Linked DNA regions of Homo sapiens: region 2 is linked to region 1. Evidence: promoter capture Hi-C in 16 types of primary human blood cells and fetal thymus (Javierre and others, 2016). All regions are on one chromosome and are shown on one strand. The core of a region is centred on a gene start or on the middle of the fragment in contact, and the rest is flanking DNA. Distances in the headings are between cores, read along the strand shown. Region 1 holds the start of C10orf55 (chromosome 10 putative open reading frame 55). Region 2 holds the start of LOC124902455 (a long non-coding RNA gene).

Region 1 (4,859 bases), core at 1,610-4,109:
CACTCTATCCTGGGCAACAGAGAGCAAGACTTCGTCTCAACAACAACAACAACAACAGAAAGGATTCATGAGTTCATAAGTCCTTTAGCATAATACTGGCACCTAATAAAAGCATAAAAACGGTGGTTATTATTACAAAGCTAAGTAAATTATTGTAGCATCAGATCAGATGGGAACCCTCTGCCCTCTCCCACCTCAGAACTGCACTATTTTGCGGGAGTGGAAACCTGCTAGGAAGCTGCCCAAGCCGAGTGGCTGTTCAGTTTCTGCCTTCCCCTCAGGGGCCAAGAAAGATCTTGTTCAAACTTGAGCAGCTCCAGCATCAGGGCTCAGAGACACTGAAAACAGGAAGTATGAGCCCTACTGGCAGGGTTAAGCCAGGAGGCTGTTAACAATTTTCAGGCCATTTCCCAGCCAACACCCTGACCCCCAGCCAGCTGCTGTCTCTTTGCCTAATATTAGATCTCACCCCAGGCTAGCAGGCATCAGCCGCTTCTCCAGCAACCAGTTTCACAGTTCCAGATTCTCACTCCAGAGACTGCCTCCTATTAGTGCCTCCACGATCAAGCACTGTGCTTTTTCTGTTTTTGCTTTTGTTTTTTTTTTTTTTGAGATGGAGTATCGCTCTGTCGCCCAGGCTGGAGTGCAGTGGTGTGATCTCGGCTCACTGCAACCTCCGCCTCCCAGGTTCAAGCGATTCTCCTGCCTCAGCCTCCCGAGTAGCTGGGATTACAGGCGCCCACCACCACGCCCGGCTACTTTTTGTATTGTTTTTAGTAGAGATGGGGTTTCACCATGTTGGCCAGGATGGTCTTGATTTCCTGACTTCGTGATCCGCCTGCCTCGGCCTCCCAGAATGTTGGGATTACAGGCGTGAGCCACCGTGCCCGGCCTTTTTTTTTTTTGTTTGAGATGGAGTCTTGCTCTGTCCCCCAGTTTGGAGTGTAGTGGCTCAATCTCAGCTCACTGTGCAACCTTTGCCTCCCGGGTTCAAGCAGTTCTCCTGCCTCAGCCTCCCGAGTAGCTGAGATTACAGGCGCCCGCCACTACGCCTGGCTAATTTTTTGTACTTTCAATAGAGATGGGGTTTCACCATGTTGGCCGGGTTGGTCTCAAACTCCTAACCTCAAGTGATCAACCCGCCTCAGCCTCCCAAAGTGCTGGGATTACAAGCATGAGCCACCATGCCAGACCAACACTGTGCTAAATTATTCATGTGTTGTCTGAGTTAATCCTCCCAAGAATCCTATGAGGAAGGTAGTATCACTAGCCCCATTTAACAGTAGAGAAAATGGAGGCACAGACAGATTGAGTGACTTGCACGAGGCAATGCAGCTCCAAATGCAAAGAGTCAGGGTTCGAACCCAGGCAGCCATCTCCAGAGTCCTCATGCGCGGTACTAGGATTTATCACCTCTCAGGAGAGTCCAACTAGGGCAAAAGGAGAGCAGCCCCCCTTTCAAGCTTTCTACTTTATGGTTGCTGGGTTTCTAGGCAACAGCTATCAGAATTTTTTTTTTTTTTTTGAGACGGAGTCTCACTCTGTTGCCAGGCTGGAGTGCAGTGGCGTAATCCTGGCTCACTGCAACCTCCGCCTCCCGGGTTCAAGTGATCCTCCTGCCTCAGCCTCCTGAGTAGCTGAGATTACAGGCACATGCCACCACGCCCGGCTAATTTTTGTATTTTTAGTAGAGACGGGGTTTCACCATGTTGGCCAGGATGGTCTCGGTCTCTTGACCTTGTGATCCACCCGCTTTGGGCTCCCAAAGTGCTGGGATTACAGTTGTAAGCCACCCGCCCAGCCCAGAATTTTTTTTTTTTTTTCCATACACAGTCTTGCTCTGTCGCCCAGGTTGGAGTGCAGTGGCCCATCTCGGCTCACTGCAACCTCTGCTTCCCAGGTTCAAGCTATTATCCTGCCTCAGCCTCCTGAGTAGCTGGGATTACAGGCGTGCACCACCACACCCGGCTAATTTTTGTATTTTTAGTAGAGACGGGGGTTTCACCATGTTGGCCAGGCTGGTCTCAAACTCCTGACCTCGTGGTTCACCCACCTCGGCCTCCCAAAGTGCTGGGATTACAGGCGTGAGCCACTGCGCCCAGCCTCATCTATCAGAATTTTAATCCTCTCCTAGATAACAATTCTTTCCTCCTAGAAGATTCCCAGGCCAGATGAGGAGACCACACTCAGCCATTGGTTTCAAAGTAAAACTTCACTGTTCTCACAGTAACCTCAGCCTTTCTGCTGCAATCTGGTTTCATTGAAGTGGTTTCCGTTTTCACCAGAACCCCTCTTTCTGAAGTATTCTCAGCCCATTATATTAACAGCACTCAGCCTGCTTTCCACGTATGCCCTATCTTTCCCAAGCTGACCACAGCAGCACCCCTGCCTATACCCCTCCATACTCACTCCCATTGGGTCCACCTTCCTTCCAAGAAGGAAACATTTAAGCCCTCCCTTTGAATTAGATGAAGTAAGAGGAGTTGCTGAGGTGTTTTTTAAAAATCAATTCTGGGCTAGGTGCAATGGCTCACACCTGTAATCCTAATACTGTGGGAGGCCTAGACGGGAGGATTGCTTGAGCCCAGGAGCTCGAGGCTGCAGTGAGCTATGATTGCACTACTGCACTCCAGCCTGGGTGACAGAGCAAGACCCTGTCTCTAAAGAAAAAAAATCAGTTTTATTGAGATATAATTCATATATCATACAACTTACCCATTTATTCTTTCTCTTTTCTAGAGACAGGGTCTTGCTCTGTCACCCAGGCTGATCTCAAACTCCTAGGCCAGAGTGATCCTCCCACCTCAGCCTCCTGAGTGGCTGGAATTACAGGCTCATACCACCACGTCTGGCACCATTTGAAGTGTACAATGCAATGGTTTTTAGTAGATTCACAGAATTGTGAGACATCACAATCAATTTTAGAACACTTCATCACCTCACAAAGAAATCCTGTACCCACTCACAATCACTCCGTTTTTCTCCCCAACCCCCTCAGCCCTAGGCAATCACTAATTTACTACTTTCTGTCCTCTCTGTGGGTTTGCCAATTCTGGGCATTTCATATCAATAGAATCCTATAATATGTGGTTCTTTGTGACTGGCCTCTTTCACTCTTAACATGATGTTTTCAAGTTTTATCCATGGCATAGCATGTGTCAGTGAGGTTGCTGAGTTTTAATAACAAATTGAGGGAAAAGATGGTCTAGGCGAGGTGCAGTGGCTCACATCTGTAAATTCCAGCACTTTGGGATACCAAAGTGGGAGGATCCCTTGAGTTCAGGAGTTCCAGAACAGCCTGGGCAACATAAAGAGGCCCCATCTCAAAAAAAAAAAAAAAAAAAAAAGGATGTTCTAGGTCTCTTTTTGAGGTTTCAGTCACATTGAGATTCATTCAACAATCTTTGTCATTTCTTTCTTTCTTTCTTTTTTTTTTTGAGATGGAATCTCGCTCTGTCGCCCAGGCTGGAGTGCAGTGGCGCAATCTCGGCTTACTGCAATCTCTGCCTCCCAGGTTCAAGCAATTCTCTGCCTCAGCCTCCCGAGTAGCTGGGATTACAGGTGCCTGCCACCATGCCCCACTAATTTTTTTCTATTTTTAGTAGAGACGAGGTTTCACCGTCTTGGCCAGGCCGATCTTAAATTCCTGACCTCATGATCCACCTGCTTCGGCCTCCCAAAGTGCTGGGATTACAGGCATGAGCCACTGCGCCCGGCCCTTTGTCATTTTTTTAAAGTACCCATACACAGGACATTATTTTAGATACAAATGAGGCAGTCCTAGTCCTCAAGGAGCTCACCACTTTGCAAAGTGCTATACTAAGTCTGCATAAAATGCATGGAAAAATAATGAAGAAGCAATTGATTCTGCCTGGTGAAGTCAATGACGACTTTACAGAAGAGGTGATATTTTACCTGGACATTCAAATACACACAGAAATTTGCCAAACTAGAAGAAAGGCATTGTAGGCGTAGGGAAGTTCATGGAGGCATGAAAAGGTGAGGTGTTCTAAGGAAATGAGGAATAGTCCATTGTGGTGGAGAACTCTGGGGGGCAATGAGTAGGTGGAGATGGTGGGGAAGGATCTGGTGGGATCCAGCTGGTGATGACCCTGCTGCAGGACTGATTCTCAGCAGCAGGCACTGGTTCTGCTCAGTGACTAAACAGATGCTGTCCTGAGATCCTCTCCGCGTGGCCCCTGCCATCAGCCTCTCTCCACTTCTTCATGATCCAGCAACCACAGGGTTAATGCCTGTGGCACAGCAAAGGCCTCTGAGATCCTCCCTCCTCCAGCTGGCTCAGGCGAAAGTGTCCTACTGGGGTATCTTGATAGTTAAATATTTTGACTATCACCTCTTGCCCTCAGGCACTATTTTTCAAAATCCAGAAAGTGAATTAAGTTCTAGAAGCCATAAAAAAATTGGCTTTTTAAACTAAACATTTTTATTCAATTGTAAAAGTAGCTACAAATGTAAAATACTTTCATAGCATTCCACAGCCATTGTTAACATCTCTGGCTTCTTGGGTTCCTTTGTAATCTCAACCTCTTTTACTCGGTCTTAAATGTTAGGATTCCTAAAGCCTGATCTTAAACTTCCTATTCCCACCCTAAGCTTTCTCCCTTAGGATCTTGTTAGCACCCAGGCTTAAATGACCACCAATAAACAGATGGCTTACAAAGCTGATCTCTAGCCAGACCTCTCTTCTGCACTCCAGACTCTTATTTTCTGTTGTCTACTTGACACCCCTTTTGGTTGTCACTCACAGGGGACCTCAAAGTCAACCTGCCCCAAACTGGCCGAGTCTTCATGCCCCAGTGTGGAGACATCTCCCATCACTTTCTGTCTCAGATGATAGC
Region 2 (4,705 bases), core at 1,816-4,315, 110 kb after region 1:
CTGTTTTTATTCTGGTGGGGCTCTGGGATACTTTCATGGTATTCACACATATTTCCTTTTAAAAAATAATTACATATGCAAGAGATAGGACAGGTGGTAGCGTTGACCTAATTTCTGTTGGCAATATTTAGCTTTCCGTTTTAAATATATTTACCCATTTTTTTTTTTTTGTAATGACATGTGGGAGCCCAGCTAGTCACCCTCATATAGTCATAGAGTATTAAAGTTTATAGATGTCATGCCTGTAATCCCAGCACTTTGGGAGGCCGAGGTAGGTGAATCATTTGAGGTCAGGAGTTCAAGACTAGCCTGGCCAACATGGTGAAACCCCGCCTCTACTAAAAATACAAAAATTAGCCAGGTGTGGTGGCGGGCACCTGTAGTCCCAGCTACTCAGGAGGCTGAGGCAGGAGAATCGCTTGAACCCGGGGGGCGGATGTTGCAGCCATTGCGCTCCAGCCTGGGTGACAGAGCGAGACTGTCTCAAAAAAAAAAAAAAAAAAAAAAAAATGAAGTTTATGGATGTGTTGAAGAAAGAATGAAGATAAAAAGAATGTTTTCCTGAGTGAATTGTATAAGAATTTGAAGGAATTGAGGAGCTAAAGAGCATGTGCGCACAGATATGAAAATGATAAAATTAAATTTTCATTTCATCTTAAATCTTCATCATTTTACTTCAGTTGGCATTTAATTTCTGAGCATATGCTATGTGCCAGTCACCATGTGTCATGGCTATGAGGGAAAAAAACAGTCACAGACCCTTAGTCACAAATTTGCAAAAGAATTTGCTTTGTACTTGAAGCATCTACTAGAGATTATATTCAGATCATCCAGTGATGTTTTCCTCTTTATCGGTATTTATGAATATGTAAAGGTTACTTAATTATAACTAGTGGGAATAAGACTGAGGGTTTTTTTGTTTGTTTTTGTTTTTTAAGACAGGATCTCCCCCTGTTGCCCAGGCCAGAGTGCAGTGGTGCAATCATAGCTTACTACAGCCTCGATCTTCTCAGCTCAAGTGATTCTCCTGGATCACCCTCCCAAGTAGCTAGGACTACAGGCAAGAGCCACCACACCTAGTTAATTTTTTATTTTTTTTATTTTTTGTAGAGACAGGGTCTTGCTATGTTGCCCAGGCTGGTCTCAAACTCCTGGCTTCAAGTGATCTTCCAGCCTTGGCTTCCCAAAATGCTGGAATTATAGGTGTGAGCCACTGCTCCCAGCCTTAAGTAATCTTTTTTTTTTTTTTTTTTTTGAGACAGGGTTTCGCTCTTGTCACCCAGGTTGGAGTGCAATGGCGTGATCTTGGCTCACTGCAACCTCTGCCTCCCGGGTTCAAGCAATTCTCCTGCCTCAGCCTCCCAAGTAGCTGGGATTACAAGCATCCACCACCATGCCCAACTAATTTTTGTATTTTTAATAGAGACGGGGTTTTACCACGTTGGCCAGGCTGGTCTCGAACTCCTGACCTCAGGTGATCCACTCACCTTGGCCTCCCAAAGTGCTGGGATTACAGGCGTGAGCTATGGCGCCTGGCAAGTAATCTTTTTAATAACTAAGAACACTGGAAAAACTAGAGGAGATTATTAGTAAAAGGTGTTCATTTTATTTTCCCATAATTATTGCTTGATTTCCTGTCACTAGTCAGGACTAAAAGGTGGGAGATGTGGGACCTTTGAGTTCTGTTACATAGCATTTGCTTATGTATGTTTGCAACTAAAATGGAAACTTTAGGCTGGGCACAGTGGCTCATGCCTGTAATCCCAGCATTTTGGGAGGCCCCTGGAGTAGTTGGGACTACAGCTAGGTGCCACCATGCCCAGCCGATTTTTGTATTTTGAGTAGAGATGGGGTTTCACCATGTTGGCTAGGTTGGTCTCAAACTCTTGGCCTCAAGTGATCCACCCACTTCGGCCTCCCAAAGTGCTGGGATTACAGGCGTGCCTCCATACAGAAGAATTTTTTTTTTTTTTGAGATGGAGTCTCGCTCTATCACCCAGGCTGGAGTGCAGTGGCGTGATCTCGGCTCACTGCAAGCTCCGCCTCCTGGGTTCATGCCATTCTCCTGCCTCAGCCTCCCTAGTAGCTGGGACTACAGGCGCCCACCATCATGCCCGGCTAATTTTTTGTATTTTTAGTAGAGACGGGGTTTCACTGTGTTAGCCAGGATGGTCTCGATCTTCTGACCTCATGATCCCCCTGCCTCAGCCTCCCAAAGTGCTGGGATTACAGGCGTGAGCCACTGCGCCTGGCCAGAAGAATCTTGAGTTGAGGGGGAGGATGAAGTGTTTGCACATTAGAAGCTTAGTCATGGTATCTTCATAAATGGGGATCTGGTGAGCAAGGTTGCTCTGCTAACATTTATGTAGCCTTAACTGACAGACTGAGTCTCATATTGGGTTAGAATAAACAGCTGCTGCCAAGGAAGCTTAACATTGGTTCTAAGGAAACTATGTGGCATCAGATAAGCTTGCTTGACATCAGAACTTGCCACTGACATGGTTCATCTGCTGCCTAGCCTATGTGATTGTGTTCTCATTGATGCACATTTAAATTAATATTTTGGGCAATTGGTTAAAATTTTGACCTTTAGGCCCTAGAGGTTTCTCATGACTTTATTTATGAAGAATATTGTTGATGCATTTTAGAATTTAATTTGTGTTTTTTTCTGATTATGAAGGCAATACATAGTTGATTTAAAAAAAATACTCTGGAAAAAGTATAGAAAAGGATTAAGAAGAAAATAAAAATCACCTGAAATTCTACTTCCCATGGTATGTTTGCTTCCAGTTATTTTTTCAATGTGGATATATATTTGGGAGAGAGTGGGATGTTTCCTTATTAGTGAAATAGCTGAGGCTTCAGTAAAATTTCACTTAACACTCATGATATTGAGATGTTTGCCTAATGCACTGTGCTAATTAAGGTTGTTTGTTTAATCAGGTGGTACAAATTCTGATGCCTTAGGAGCCAAATAGGCAATGAGTGAATCAGGCCAGTTATAAGCACTGGGGAGTGATGGCAACTGTGGTTAACTGGAAAATGCCGGCCCTAACTGAAGAAGTTACTACCATCTTCAACTTACTGTTGTCACATGGAAACAGGGGCTAATGTTACCAAATCTTCCTAATTGTCAAGAAAGTCCCAGAAGTCTGTTTCTTTTTAATGTGAAATTTCTCATGTTAAAAAATACTGTGCAGGTCAAACAAAATAGTCTGTGTGTTGCACTTGGCCCATACACTGGCATTTTTTGTCACTCCTGACATAAATGCTTCTCAATCTTTCTCATAGCTCTTACAAGAAGAGCACATTTATTAAAGAAAATGTTGGGAGAGGAGTTTATGCATAAGGAGTTTCTGAGAATGGCTTCAGGAACTTTTCCGTCTGAGAGGGTTGCTTAGTATAGAAATGATAAACTCAGTTACAGGAATCAGGTGGTGACATAAATGAGTAAAATGAATTGGGATTAAGATTATGAGTGTGGACATGGTACAAATGCGCTGTTTGGGACATTTGGGTTCCAGTAATGTTTTTCCTTGATGGAATGCAGATCCAAATTGCTGCCAGACCTTCTAAGATTTAAGAGATGTCAGAAATTTGGATCTTTGTGAAATTTCTTGATTTTCAACTCATTTATGCATAGTGTTCCATTATTGGAACGCTAAGCTTGTGGGAGTTATTTATATCCTACTGCTCAAGGTCATCGCCAAGGTCTGATTTTTCACACAAAAAAATTGCAACCTCTGGCACAAATGGGTTAAAAATACTATGTGGACCAAACAAAAACCATCCTTGCCCCAAATTCTACACAAAATCCACTAATTTGCAGCTCTTGGCCTAGATCACTGTTTCCTACATATGTCCTAGAAATCCTAATTCTGTCATATATTAATAGGTGCTAAGAAATAAGGAATTCTTGGTCACATGAATTTGGAAAATGATGGATTAAACAAAACTGAACACATTTCCTGACTGAAGGTTATCATAGATCCTCAATTATGCTAATGTGCCTTGTAAATTCCTAAGAAGATATAGCCCATTACCCCACAGTTACAGTTAGGTCACCATCTCCACTTGCTTCCCCCACCACCCCCCTTGTCTAGGGTAAGAGTGGCTTTCCTCCTGGTAAAGGTTAGTCTCTGTATCTCTCTCCAGATTCTTACCCTGTCTCTTCAGGGATCTGACTTCAGAAGAAATCTATTTCCTGCCTCTTGTCCTGTAGCCTATCAGTATGCTTGGTTTTCTCCAGTTTAAAAAAAATGACGACCTTTTCTTATACCATACACAAAAATTGACTCCAAATGGATCACAGACCTAACTATAAGAGCTAAAACTATAAAATTCTTAGAATAAAACATGGGAGTAAATCTTCATGATCTCAGGTTAGATGAAGCCTTCTTAAGTGTTACACCAAAAGCACAAGTAGCAAAAGACAAAACAAAACAACAGGAAAAAAGCACAAGCAACCAAAATCACAAACAACAAAAGAAGACAAGCTGGGCTGCAATCCCAGCACTTTGGGAGGCCCCGCAGGCAGATTACTTGAGCCCAGAAGTTCGAGATCAGCCTGGTCACCATGGTGAAACCCTGTCTCTACAAAAAATACTAAAAATTAGCCGAGTGTGGCCCGGCACGGTGGCTCATGCCTGTAATCCCAGCACTTTGGGAGGCCGAGGCGGGCGGATCACCTGTGGTCAGGAGTTCC

Evidence for each region. Contacts are between HindIII fragments. The CHiCAGO score rates a contact against its expected background, and 5 or more counts as called.
Region 2: a fragment that was not itself captured here is called in contact with the fragment with the promoter of C10orf55 in region 1 in 1 of 17 cell types (monocytes); the score reaches 5.2 in monocytes.

Annotation. Positions count from the first base shown.
Region 1 is chr10:73,919,918-73,924,776 of GRCh38, forward strand. C10orf55 (chromosome 10 putative open reading frame 55) reads right to left here and starts at 2,860. Exons shown (of 5, transcript NR_160938.1): 1 at 2,716-2,860. RefSeq lists enhancers at 255-903, 904-1,550. The HindIII fragment of the contact is 3,151 bases long and covers 1,462-4,612 here.
Region 2 is chr10:74,027,159-74,031,863 of GRCh38, forward strand. The region is part of intron 1 of VCL (vinculin); the gene reads left to right. LOC124902455 (a long non-coding RNA gene) reads left to right here and starts at 1,457. Exons shown (of 2, transcript XR_007062197.1): 1 at 1,457-2,774; 2 at 2,944-4,705. The HindIII fragment of the contact is 1,197 bases long and covers 2,468-3,664 here.